Regions from separate parts of the Homo sapiens genome. Here region 2 is linked to region 1. Evidence: promoter capture Hi-C in human tissues and cell types (Jung and others, 2019). All regions are on one chromosome and are shown on one strand. Each heading gives the region's core, a stretch centred on a gene start or on the middle of the fragment in contact. The rest is flanking DNA. Distances are from core to core; before and after follow the strand shown. Region 1 holds the start of TACR2 (tachykinin receptor 2). Region 2 overlaps KIFBP (kinesin family binding protein).

Region 1 (6,777 bases), core at 1,763-4,262:
GGTGACCCTCAGCGCTAGTGTCCCGCGATGCTGTCTGTGACCTCTGAAGCTAGGGCCCAGAGCAGCCTCCCAAACAGAGATAGGCCACTCTCAAGAGCATCCCCCAGGCGCTGATAGCAACGCCTCATCCACAGTGCTTTCTGGAGCCGCCTTTCCTCTCCCACCCACTTCTCTCACACACCACAGCTCTCCCACCTTTTCTTCCTCAAACTCCCTGGAAGATCATTCCTCTCCCAACTCTGGTCTTTAAGCCTCTAGCCCAGAGGTCACAATTACACCAACCAGCAAGGCACAGTTGCCAGCGCACGCCCGTCTGAAGGAGTGGCTGCTGTCTAGCTGTGTGGACGTTGCCCTGCGCTTCCCAGGCCCCCTTCAAGCTGCCGGGCAGGCATATAGTACCAGCACCATGTTTAGCGTCCCCGACTGCAGGCCTCGCCTCAACTGCCTTGACAACAATCACATGATTTCTTGGGGTGGCCCACGTCCAGTGACCAATGTGGAAATATAAAGGCCTGGTTAACTTTGCCCCACACGGGGCAACTCTGAAGCTATCCCAGTTCCAATTACCCATGGGGTTACCAAGGCTATTGTAGGCCTGGACCACAGCACGATGCCGTGCTTCAGCCACACTTGCTTCCTGCCTTGTCTGCTGCCCCAAGTGTTGACCCCAGTGGTAGCTCCCTGAGAAACAGCTGGTGTGTTTCTTACACAGCAGGGTCTGCTTCCTGGATGCACGCAACTGGCACCATCAGCTCAGGTGTGCGATTACAGGTGTGAGCCACCGTGCCCGGCATTTTTTTTTCTCCTTTAAAAGGACTGGCCTTCCAGGCGCAGTGGCTCATGCCTGTAATCCCAGCACTTTGGGAGGCTGAGGCAGGTGGATCACCTGAGGTCAGGAGTTCAAGACCACCCTGACCAACATGGTGAAACCCTGTCTACTAAAAAAATACAAAAATTAGCCAGGTGTGGTGGCATACACCTGTAATCCCAGCTACTTAGGAGGCTGAGGCAGGAGAATCGCTTGAACCCAGGAGGCGGAGGTTGCAGTGAGCCAAGATCGTGCCATTGCACTCCAGCCTGGGCGACACTGTGAGACTCCATCTAAAATAATAAAATAAAATAAGGACTGGCCTTCGGGATCGCTGTCTAGCTATGGACTCAGAAGGCCAGTGCCAAGCAGCAAAGCTGATCAGGAACCCCTTCATCCTGGGTGGCCCGCATCTTCCCCTTTCACGAGGCTTCAAACCATAGCACATAGTTGGAAGGCTGCAAGAGCAGATAATTTAAGGGGAAAATAAAAACTCAGATGTACAAGCTCCAAAACATAATCCCCTTTACATAAACAGTGGAGGTGGCGGGATGTTGTGGGGAGGAAGGAACTTGAACTCTGCTGGGCTTCTGTGACTGGTGACAGGCGCTCAGGCATCCCAGCCCTGCACTGGGTTTGCACCTGAAGCTCAACAAATTCCCACTGCCTGGGAGCAGGAGGACAGCAAAAAGAGCAGGCTGTCTTGGGCTTCCATTCTTATTTCTACACATTCTGCTCTTTAGGACCCTGGCCAGATGGGCATGAGACAGAAGCAAACCCTAAAGTACTGCTACTGTTGCCGCCACCAACAGAGATCAAAGGCAGAGACCCTTCTGCTAGGGTCCAAAGTCCAAACAGGCCACTCCAGAGAGGAAACAGGCACACAGGCACACACCCACGGGAGGAGTAGGGGCCCAGGAAGCACTCCCTCCCCAAGGGCAAGGATGGGGTTCCCATTCGACCCAGCACATGCTCCTCACATCTGCACAGCAGGGAGACCAAACAATAGATACAATTTCAGTGTTGATTGTCGATGAACTTACCCAGAAGTTCATAATCAGAAAAATCCATAAAGAAGCTCTTTCAATTTCAGCATGTTTAAGTTTCATGACTTATGGTTTAGTGTTGTTTTTATATTGGATTCCATGGGTGGCATAATCTTTTCAGCACTAGAGACCTTTAAAGGTCTTTCTCAGCTCACCCCGGGAGACAAGGGCTGGGTGTCAGGAAAGTGACACACAGGGAGAAGCAGAAAATGGACTGGGAGTGTGGGGGCCGAGGCCCAGCCACGAGAAACCCAGGCGGTGCAAGGCAGAGCCCTGGGAGCACAGAGGCTGCTGTGCCGTGGGTTGCTGGTGAATGAGAAGCCTCCTCTGCTTTAATGAAGAACATGCCCCCCCGACTCCCGCTAATCCTGCCCTGCCTTCATGGTCCACACACCACAGGTGTGCACAGGTTCATGCGTGTGTGTGAGCTTAACACGTCAGCCGCACATACAGTTGCTCAGAAACATCTTCACTGCTTCACACACGTGCACACAGTCAATGACCAGGAGCAGGGATCTTGGGGCAAACCTAGAGCAGCTTCTCAGGAGTTAAAACTCCAGCTTTGCTGTGGTTCCCGGAAGAGCCCTGACTTTGTCCTAAGACAGTGGTTCTCAAAGTGAAGTGCTGGCTCCAGCAGCATCAGTATCACCTGGGAACTCGCTGGAAACGCTCCGGGTTCTGGCTTCTCCTCCTAGAGCGCCCAGAGCTGTGGGGTCCTCCCTTCGGGCCAGAAACTCCAATCATAGTTTTTATGTACCAACCCCTGTGCTAAGTAGACTTTGTGCACATTATCTCCATTTAAAATTCACAAATGTACTGTAAGATGCACACCATTTTTCTATATTTTTCAGATGGGGTAGACAGAGCTCAGAAAGGTTAAGAGACTTGCCTGGAGTCACCAAACCAGGCTCGAACTCCTTCTGTATTCAGAATCACTCTTCAGACGTAGCTCCTGTCCTGGGCTGAAAGTCAACATCCGCCGAGAGCTGGGCCCTCTGTACCAGCCCCATCTCCCCCAAGTCTCTCCCTGCCTCTGCAGCCAGTCCTAAATCTTTCAAGAGACAAGGCCAAGCAGGGGGTGGGACCAGGGGCGGGAGCCAAAGCCCCCCCTCGTGAGCAGGCAGCACCTCTGCCAAGGCCCCCACTGGCCCTGCCCCAGAGAACGGCAGGGAAGCTGCAGCGAGGGCTGGCAGCTGGCAGAGCCCTGAGCACCCAGCACCCAGCCCGGCTTGCAGCCCAAAGCCTGGAGAGAGGCTGCTGCGCCATTGACCTGTGGACTCCAGAGACTCCCGCTGTGCATTCCTCTGATCTGGAAGGTTTCCTGAATTACGTGACGAGAAACCTGGGTTCGAGTCCTAACTTGTCACCAACTTCCTGAGTGACCTGGGCTGGTCCCGTCCCCTCTTGGAATCTCTGTCTTCCATCTCTTCAGCGAAGGGGTTGATTTATAAGGGTGTTTTCTGCTCTGACACTGTGATTTGAATTCTGTGTTTCCACATGATATTCGAGAAGTCTGGCCGGAAGGATGGAATCTGAAATGACAATGGTTCTGGACTGGGCTTTGTGCTCAGCCCAGCTCATCTTTGCCTGAGACCTAGGAGTGGCCCCAGGCTCTCCTGATGTGCCACCACGCTTGGCATCTGCTCCTCTCCCTGCCCCCATATTCCCATGCTCTGAAGGGGAGTTCTCTTTCATAGCAAATCCGAGAGGAGCCGAGGAGCCAGGTCCTTTGTTCCAGACCCAGAAGCAGCCATGGGGACCTGTGACATTGTGACTGAAGCCAATATCTCATCTGGCCCTGAGAGCAACACCACGGGCATCACAGCCTTCTCCATGCCCAGCTGGCAACTGGCACTGTGGGCCACAGCCTACCTGGCCCTGGTGCTGGTGGCCGTGACGGGTAATGCCATCGTCATCTGGATCATCCTGGCCCATCGGAGGATGCGCACAGTCACCAACTACTTCATCGTCAATCTGGCGCTGGCTGACCTCTGCATGGCTGCCTTCAATGCCGCCTTCAACTTTGTCTATGCCAGCCACAACATCTGGTACTTTGGCCGTGCCTTCTGCTACTTCCAGAACCTCTTCCCCATCACAGCCATGTTTGTCAGCATCTACTCCATGACCGCCATTGCTGCCGACAGGCAAGAGGGTCCTTGGGGAAGCTGGGGGGAGCCTCCCCACTGAGCCGGGGCTCAGATAAGGGTGGTGACATGCCTGTGATTACACAGCAAGTTTGGGTAGAACCATGGGAATGGCTTCCCAAATCTGGTCATGGTCCAAAACTATGAATCTGGAAGGCAGGGGGACTGTGGAGCTGAAGAAGGTAGACTGAGGGTTAGACACAGAGAAGGACTTTGCACTAGATGCACTAGACAGGTTGTTCAAGTCTGTAGGGGAAGTGGGCAATGTTTTAGCGACCTTCTGAAGTGTTCTTTCCTGGAGTTGATCTTTGTTTTGTTGTCTTTATTTCACTCCAAAGATATGTCTTATACAGTTTTTTTTTTATTATTCCGGATAGATTACACGAGGGGAAAATGTTAAGTTTGCTTGCAGTTACAATCTAATAGGGCCAATTATTTTCCCAACGCTGCTCAGGGCTGAGCTTCAGGCTAATGTTGGATGCTTGATCTTGCCCTGAGATGGGCTTCCAGTGTGGCTTTCTTGTGGCCGTCCACGGGCATGTCCATGCCCAGAGGGAAATGGTGGGCCGAGGTGCCTGGGCCGGGGTTCCAAGGCATCAGTGTGCTGTGTGGCTGTGGGAGAGTCACCCAGCGGGCTCTCTGCAGGTCGGCTGATACTATGATATCAGCAGATGGCAGCAGTGCGGGGAATGGCTAGAAGGCGTGGGCCTGGGTTGGGAGAGAGGGAGACAGGGGAAAGGGAGCTGGGCTAACAGGAGGGCCCCTGCCGCTCAAGCTGCCCTCTGCTCACAGGTACATGGCCATCGTCCACCCCTTCCAGCCTCGGCTTTCAGCTCCCAGCACCAAGGCGGTTATTGCTGGCATCTGGCTGGTGGCTCTCGCCCTGGCCTCCCCTCAGTGCTTCTACTCCACCGTCACCATGGACCAGGGTGCCACCAAGTGCGTGGTGGCCTGGCCCGAAGACAGCGGGGGCAAGACGCTCCTCCTGTAAGGCCTCTGGGGGATTGTGGAGGGCAACAGTGTGTGTGTGTGAGTCTGTGTGTGTGTGTGTACACACGCGTGCATGCATCCATGTCCATGCATGTGTGGTGTGCATGCATGGGTGTACACATGAGTGAGTGTACACGGGATTGTGTGAATATACCTATATGCTTAGTAAGCAACACACACGATGTAGCCGATCTGTTTTTCACACTTTACATATATTGACCCATTTAATTCTCCTAACTATGTGGGATATATATTATATTATTATTCTTACCATTTTTTAGATGAAGAAACTGAGGCACTGAAAAACTAAGTAACATGCCCAAAACCACACAGCTAGTAATTCAAATCCAGCTAGTCATTTGAATCCAGCTATGGATTCAAATCTAAGCAATCCTGCCCAGGGCCCAATCTCCTCACCACTCTGCTACTCAAATATGCACCCTTGCATCCTTAGATAAGGATATGCATGCATGCACACGTGTATGTGACTGTACATGTCACGTGAACATGCGGCACCCATTTCTGCCTGTGTGTACACGTGCAAGTGTGTGGGCATATTTGTAGATGTGTTTGCACACAGGCACGTGTTAGGGACATGTGTAGGCGTGTGTCTGGGGGAGACTCTCTATATGCTCAGGCCACAAAGCGGCAGGAGACTGAGGCAGAACGAGTCCATGATGGAGCCTGGGACATTTTCAGGCTGCTGAGGTGGGCATCACAGGCTGGAGGCAGGGAGGGCAGGGTTAGAGGAATTCAGGCATGGCCCAGCTGCTGTGTGACCCTGGGTGAGTCCTTTCTCCATTCCGGCCTCAGTTTCTGAGGATCTCACGATGTGTCTTTGTGGTCCCCAGGCACTGAGCCATTGCTTGGTAGAGGCTAAAGAACCGACTGGGGTTCTGGGCTCAGTCAGGCCCAAGTCGTGGCCTGGTCCCACGTGGCCGGAGGATGCCTCACACTCACGTAACCTCTGAACCTCTGGCTTTCTCTCTCTAAAATGAGGATTCATAATAGTACCTCGCTCTGTGAGCATAAATGAGATAGTGTACCTGAAGCCCTTAGCACCATGCCTGGCACAGAACTGGTACCCAGTATGTGGCAGCTTAAATAGGGGACACATGAAAACACACCTGGGGGTGGCAGATCCTTCCCACAAAGTCCCAGCTGCCCCAAGCATGAGGGTGTGCATGGTCTGAGGTGAGGGCTGCCAGGTAGCCATGGCAACACACCTCTCCTCCAACATCCTCCCTGCCTGGTCTCCATCTGTCCTGAGCACCTGCCAGGAGAAGGCTGCTCTTGTGGGCTTCAGGGATAGGGAAGGTGCCATTCTTCTGAGAAGCCGTTCCTGGGGACTGGCGAGTCTCGAGGGCAGGCCCTGCCCAGGGTCTCTGCCCCCTCCCTGCACCCCACCCTCTCACGGAGGGCGATATCCATATATGGGGAATGCCCGGCTTTCTGGCTCAGCAAAGGGTGGAGAGCAGAACATATTGAGACCGGCCACTTGGGGTCGGTATTTCTCCATCTTCATACAGGACCACTGTGCGTGCCAGCTCTCTGAGAACAGCGAGTTCCATCCCAGATTCAGGCGACTGGGAAAAACAGGCGGGCAGGGGTGGGCTAGGAAAGCCATACTTTGGTGTTGCTTAAAATTCCGAAAGGATTTGGGGAAAGCCTGGTTTTAAGTGTGAGAATGTGTTATTGTTTTTCTTGGGGGAGAGCCTAATTTAGGATGAGGGCTCCATCCACACAGGCTCATGTAACTGTGTGTAATTAGGAATCTGATGAAATTAAA
Region 2 (6,777 bases), core at 1,257-3,756, 410 kb after region 1:
TGCTTCCTGTTAAGCCTGAGGAACTGTGAGTCAATTAACCTCTTTTCTTCATAAATTACCCAGTCTCAGGTAGTTCTTTTGTTTTGTTACCCAGGCTGGAGTGCAGTGGTGCAGTCTTGGCTCACTGCAACTTCTGCCTCCTGGGCTCAAGTGATTCTCCTGCCTCAGCCTCCCCAGTAGCTGGGACTATAGGTGCACACCACCATGCCTGGCTAATTTTTTGTATTTTTGGTAGAGACAGGGTTTCAACATGTTGTCTAGGCTGGTCTCAAACTCATGGGCTCAAGTGATCCACCCACCTTGGCCTCCCAAAGTGCTGGGATTATAGGCATGAGGCGCTGTACCTGGCCTCAAGTAGTTCTTTATAGCAGTGTGAGAACAGACTAATACAACCACTAAAGATTATTATACTTTTATCAAGCAGAGTCCCATGTAAAAAAAAAAAATTATCATACTTTAATACACAATATAAAAAAATAAAAGCACAATGAATCCCCCAGGAAATCTTCCTATGTATCTACACTTAGTATATTGCATCTAAATGATTAATTTTATTATCCTCCCTAGTGCTTAGAAACTAGGATTGGGCATAAATTAATAATGATGATGGTAGTTAACATTTATTAAGGACTTAGTATGTCTCAGGCACTTTTCCGAGGCCTTAATATATACTGACTTAACTCCCATAACAACAGTATTAAGTACTATTATCTCCAACTTACTTGTGAGGAAATAGAGGCAAAAATATATTAAGTAAATTGCCACAAAGACATAGCTACGAAGCGGCAGAGCTGGAGTTCATACCTACCTAGTGTATTTCAAGTCCATGCTCTTCACTGCCATCAGTTCTGCTTCTATTTTTGAACTATTACATGAGCTATTTCTTAAAAGTCTACCCTTTTAGATTTTATCAAGTCCATGCTGTGTGTAAGATAACACTGGGAAGTATATAAAGATTAGTAAGGGCTTGGCCAGGTGTGGTTGCTCACACCTGTAATCCCAGCACTTTGGGAGGCCGAGATGGATGGATCACTTGAGGTCAGGAGTTCGAGACCAGCTTGGCCAAAATGGTGAAACCCCATCTACACTAAAAAGACAAAAATTAGCCAGGCATGGTGGCAGGCACCTGTAATCCCAGCTACTCAGGAGGCTGAGGCAGGAGAATCCTTTGAACCCAGGAAGCAGAGGTTGCAGCTGCGATCACACCACTGCACTCCAGCACGGGCGACAGAGCAAAACTCCGTCTCAAAAAAAAAAAAAAAAAAAAAAAAAAAAAGATTAGGCACAGTGGCTCACACCTGTAATCCCAGCACTTTGGGAGGCCAAGGCAGGAAGATCACTTGAGCCCAGGAGTTCAAGACCAGCCTTGGCAACACAGTGAGAGCCAGTCTCTACAAAATAATTTAAAAATTAACTGGATATGGTGGCACACGCCTGTACTCCAAGGATGAGGTGGGAGGACTGCATGAGCCGGGGAGACCAAGGTTGCAGTGACCCATGATCACGCCACCACACTCCAGCCTGGGAAACAGAGCGAGAGCCTGTCTAAAAAAAAAAAAAAAAAGAATATGATATCGTTCCCAGCTCTCAAGAAGCTTATATTCTAACCAAAGAAAAGTCTTCAAGGAAGAGGTAGTATTTAAGATAGGCCTTGAATGATGAGTAAGATTTATTTTATTTATTTATTTATTTAGAGATGGAGTCTCGCTCTGTTGCCCAGGCTGGAGTGCAGTGGTCCAATCTCGGCTCACGCAGCCTCTGCCTCCCGGATTCAAGCAATTCGAAGAATACGATTTAAAACCAAGAAAGAAATATTTACGAAAACATTCTACACACCTTTCATATTAAACACAATGTGACCCCAATGAGCACAATCCCCACTATGAGTTTTTACTTACAATTTCCTCATTTAAGAAAGAAAAAGGCAGCTTCTGACTGCATTACCTGCATGGAGAGTTGGGCATTCTGCATGAGAGTCAAACAGTATTTGATCCAGCACCTTGCTATTTCCCCCTTTCTTTGATGATAAAGCTCTGGCACTTCTCCTTCAGCTTCAGGAGCTAAAATATACATGTGATTTGTTTAAGTTAATGGTCACAACTGTAATTTTCATTGGGTACTGTAATTTTTTTAATATCACTTTTTCCTGACTATAAAAGTAACAGATCTTTACTGAAGCAGGGGGCTTGGGGAAAAGGGAAGAAAGATCCCCCCCCAAATCCTACTACCCAGAAGCACTCACTATTATTTTTGCATATTTCTTTCTCGCACCACAAACACTTTACTCATATCATTATCAACTCTTAGCTTCATTTTTAAGTACACCATTATATACAATTAAATAGATATTCTATTATTTAACCATTCTTCTAATTCTAACCTGGAATTTGTTGTTTCCAATTCTTTACTATCACAAAAACGTCTATGTCACACAACAGATGGTTGTGGAGAACCTGGTGCTAAACTATTCAGATGACCTGCTTCTGGGTCAGAGTGTCATACATAGCAGAGCAGCTTTCTTGCTGTAATCTACAAAGTCAGCTGTCAACACAAAGCTTTGTAAAGTTTATACACATACACACATTTTTTTTAAACTTGAAACATGAGTATAATTGTGCAAAAATCTGTCTGGATTTTGGATTTCTTCCTTAGGGCAGATTCCTAGAAGTGGAATTTACTGAGTAAAAGAGTTTACACAATTTTAAATAATTCACAACATACAGCCAAATTATTTTCAACAAATATGCCAACCAACAATATATGAGAATGCTCAATAAGAACATTTTGAAAACACTGGTCACTGTCATTTTTTCAGCTATTATGAAGAGTAAAAACAAAATAATATCTCACGATATTACTTTAAATAAAGTGAATTATTAAATAATATCTCAGCAATTTAGTTTTTATTCATTTTTTGAGACAAGTGCCTCTTAGACTTCAACTAATCTATAATTAATGTAGTTAATATATTAGGGGAGAAAGCAACTATTTACTTTGATAATGTACATTCCTTTAGCTCTTAAGAGTCTCTGCATTTTTCAGATCCACAATTAGAATGTCCATTTGTAAGGAAGACATGATGTTTCAAAATCTAAAACATCGTAAGAAGGTTGGAAACTGTTCAACAGTGAGCAATAGAATCAAACTATTTTTAAAAATAAACTATTTTTAAAGAAAATGATGAACTTATTAAAAAACCTGTTAAATGACTCAAAGACACATGTTAACTGTGATTTTCTAAGACTAAAGGAAACACTATACTTAAAAAGATGGGTATTTGGCAACATCGCTTATGCATGTAGTATTCCAACCAAAAATATATCATCTGAATCATGGCATAAGGAAACATCACACAAACCCCAGCTGGCAGTAATTCTATGAAATAACTGGCCTATATTCTTAATATTAAGTGATGAAAGGGAAAGAAAGGCTGAGGAACAATTCCAGACGAAAAATGCCTGAAGAGATGTGACAACTGAATGCATTATGCAATCTTGAACTGTATAATCCAGTACTGGCAAACAAATGCTAGAAGGAATATTATGGCAACAACTGATGAAATAGAAATATGCAGTGTAGATAAAAGAATTGTATCAATGTTACTTTTTTTTTTTTAATTTCTTTAAAAACATAGAGATGGGGTCTCACTATGTTGATCAGGCTTGTCTTGAACTCCTGGCCCCTCCCATCTTGGCCTCCCAAAATCTAGCATTACAGGCGTGGGCCACCATGCCTGGCCAATGTTACATTTCTTGAATTTGATAAATGATCTATGATTATGTAAGAAAATATTCTTCTTAGGAAATATATACTAAAGTATGAAAGGGTAAAAGAGCCTAATGTATGTAACCTTCTCTCCAATGGTTCAGAGAGAAAAATAAAATTTGATTCCAAGCGAGGAAAATACTAAAAATTGGTGCATTTAGAAGGGCATATGATAGCTCTTCTGTTCTTGCAACTTTTCAAAAGTTTAAAATAATTTCAAAATAAAACTTTTTTTAAAAGCTATGTAAAACATGCAAAGGTAAACTTACTGTCTTCTGTGGCTGAGATCTTTCCAGTTTGACCAAAAATGACATTAGCAGCTGATAAACAGTGCCTGGCCTCCATAAAGCATAGCTATTGGGGAAATAAACAACAGTGAATGCAACTATCACACAGCTTTATTTGCAACTGATACTTGCATAATTTCTTTTAATATGGGAAAAGGTATAAAATCAGATAAAAATACTACAAAGGAGGCCCTGTAGAGTTGCAGATCATTCAGAAGGTACAAAAGATATATTATCATATTATCTGGTTAAAATGTAACCTCAAAGGTTAAAATATTAATGCCCCCAAACTCTTAATAATAATCCACTCGGATTGAAAGACAACTGCCAACTGAAAGTTAGCTCTCCTTATACAATCAATAGATATACAGGAATGGCTGTCATCCTAGACTTAAACTGTCTCAAAAACTCCTTTAGGTTCAGTCTAAGTAGCCAAAATCCCATGCACAATAAATTCTTAGACTATTTACATTGTGTCAGAAGACTGAATATATATATATATATATATATATATATTTTTTTTTTTTTTTACGAGACAGGGGTCTCACTCTGGCCCAAGGCTGGAGTGCAGTGGCACAATCATAGTTCACTGCAGCCTCAACCTCCTGGTCTTAAGGGATCCTCCCACCTTTAGCCTCCAAGCCTGACTAATTCTGGGGTTTCTCTATGTTGCCTAAACAGGTCTCCAACTCCTGGCCTGAAGCAATGCTCCCACCTTGGCCTCCCAGGGTGCTGGGGTTATAGATGTAAGCCACCTTGCCCAGCCTGAGGATTTAATTTTTATTAGGTTTAGAGAGCCCCTTTACATCCTACTATACAAAGGCAAATAGGATAAACTCAGGTAAGAAGATATTCCTGTGTTCTAAAATCTTTAAACTTTACATACAATAAGGCTTCCCACCAAGTTTTAAAGTCAACAGACTTCTACAGATGAACCTTATGGAACTGCTTTACCAACACTCTTGAAGACTTCATAATTCAATTCCGGGCATGGCAAACTTCTCAAACAATTAGAGAAGATCTCCTTGTTAATAGAAACATTTTGTATTTGTCATGTAAGTCAAAGGACCACCCAGCAGAAGTTCAAAGTTAAAGTCCAACTTTTAGTTGGAAGCCACCCTCATTAAATAGAATGTCTACTTAATATTAGTAATACCTGAAAGGCTTTAAATGGTTGGCTATAACTTTAAAATTGCAGCATTAAATGTATCTTTCCATTATGGCAAATTCAGAAGCCATCTTGAGAATAGCTGGACACGTGTAGTATTAGCCCAGCAACATCTATAGATAAAAATGTGTTAAATCTTAAAAGCCAAAAGAAAGTTAGAGTTTATATAATGAAACTTTAATTATCTCTCTATAATCCAATCCCTTAACATTTATCGTCATTTCAGCTTTGTCCAGATTGGCTCCCTGTGAGCAACCACTGCTAGAACAGTGAGTGTCTTATGCCCTCTAGGTGGCTGGTAAATGTGGGACTTTAGCAGCTGCCAGGTAGGGATTCACCAAGTAGCAAAACCTCATCACTGGAATCAGATGAAGATGACAATGATATAAATGACAATTGCATTTTTAAAAACATGGTTCAAATCCCTCTTTTTGCAATACGACTTAGTTGGTTTTAACAAAAACTTAAAAAAGATTTTGGTAAAAAAATAAAAGTGCAGGGTGTGGGAGGTCTCATGAAAATTACTGCATGCTCCACATAAGTAATGCTTAACAACTTTAAATTTTAATCACACTTTAATATCTAGATATCTTAGTACTGCCAATTTCCATGGAGTTTTAAGTATAAATTAAAGTCACAGTGAATATGTAATTTTAAAGTTGCTAAACAGAATGAATAAGGGGCCTCCAACAGCTGTAAAAAAGATGTCACAAGCGGAGGCACTGGATAACACTTTGGATGAGGACAATGAAATGGATTCATGAGAATTAGTTAACTGAATGCTCTGATATATGCAGTAGCGTTACTTACACACTTGATCTTAGACCAAAGTCCTAGAAGCGATGCTGCAGTCACCACAGCCCTTTCTCTCCTGCTAATAGCTTTTCTGAATGAAATTCTGTGGGACAATACTTTAATCATCGGGCGCATTTACAGAACCAACGCTAACGAAATGCTCAAAAAGGATAAAGGCCCAAGGATAAGGCAGCGGGTTACCAGAGAGATGAAAGAAGGAACTCTGATAAGCAGAGAACTACCAAAATTTCAGAGAGGCTTGCGAATTCGAAATATAAATAAAAGTAATTTATATTGCTGAGATGTCTTATTAAGGATTAATAGGAAAATCTGGTTAGAAAAGGTGGTGTAAAATTATTTTAGCATTAAAAACTCTCAAGGATTAAAGGAATAAATGGGTCAATTAAGAGTACACCAACATGATGTGAGCAATGCTTTTTTAAATTTTTATGAGAAATTCTGATAAACAACTAAGAAGCTCAAAAACATTGTCCCTGTGTAACAATCCAAAAGAAGTATGGTATAAAGACCTAGAACTTTGGAACTCAGCAGACATATTTCCAACATTAAAAAATTATTACAGAGTTAATTCTGAAAAATAACTGAAATGCATCACATGCTTTTATCAAAGCCCACATTTAACAGTCAACTTCCTCAGTCAAATTCTCAGAGTTATGAGATTACCATTACGTAAAGATAAAGCTATATCTACAAGGTAAAATCTGCAATTTAAGGTAATATCTCACTAAAATGAGTTGAGAT

What was found. Contacts are between HindIII fragments. The study calls those that stand out against the background at their distance.
Region 2: a fragment that was not itself captured here is called in contact with the fragment with the promoter of TACR2 in region 1 in 1 of the 25 tissues and cell types used here (dorsolateral prefrontal cortex).

Annotation. Positions count from the first base shown.
Region 1 is chr10:69,413,153-69,419,929 of GRCh38, reverse strand. TACR2 (tachykinin receptor 2) reads left to right here and starts at 3,012. Exons shown (of 5, transcript NM_001057.3): 1 at 3,012-3,998; 2 at 4,791-4,985. The coding sequence starts at 3,607. RefSeq lists enhancers at 1,463-1,757, 2,508-3,242. The HindIII fragment of the contact is 13,628 bases long and covers 1-6,777 here.
Region 2 is chr10:69,006,183-69,012,959 of GRCh38, reverse strand. It overlaps KIFBP (kinesin family binding protein), which reads right to left. Exons shown (of 7, transcript NM_015634.4): 5 at 4,035-4,119; 6 at 1,945-2,060. Among named protein-coding and RNA genes, the nearest start is that of KIFBP, 21 kb to the right of the region's middle. The HindIII fragment of the contact is 4,582 bases long and covers 216-4,797 here.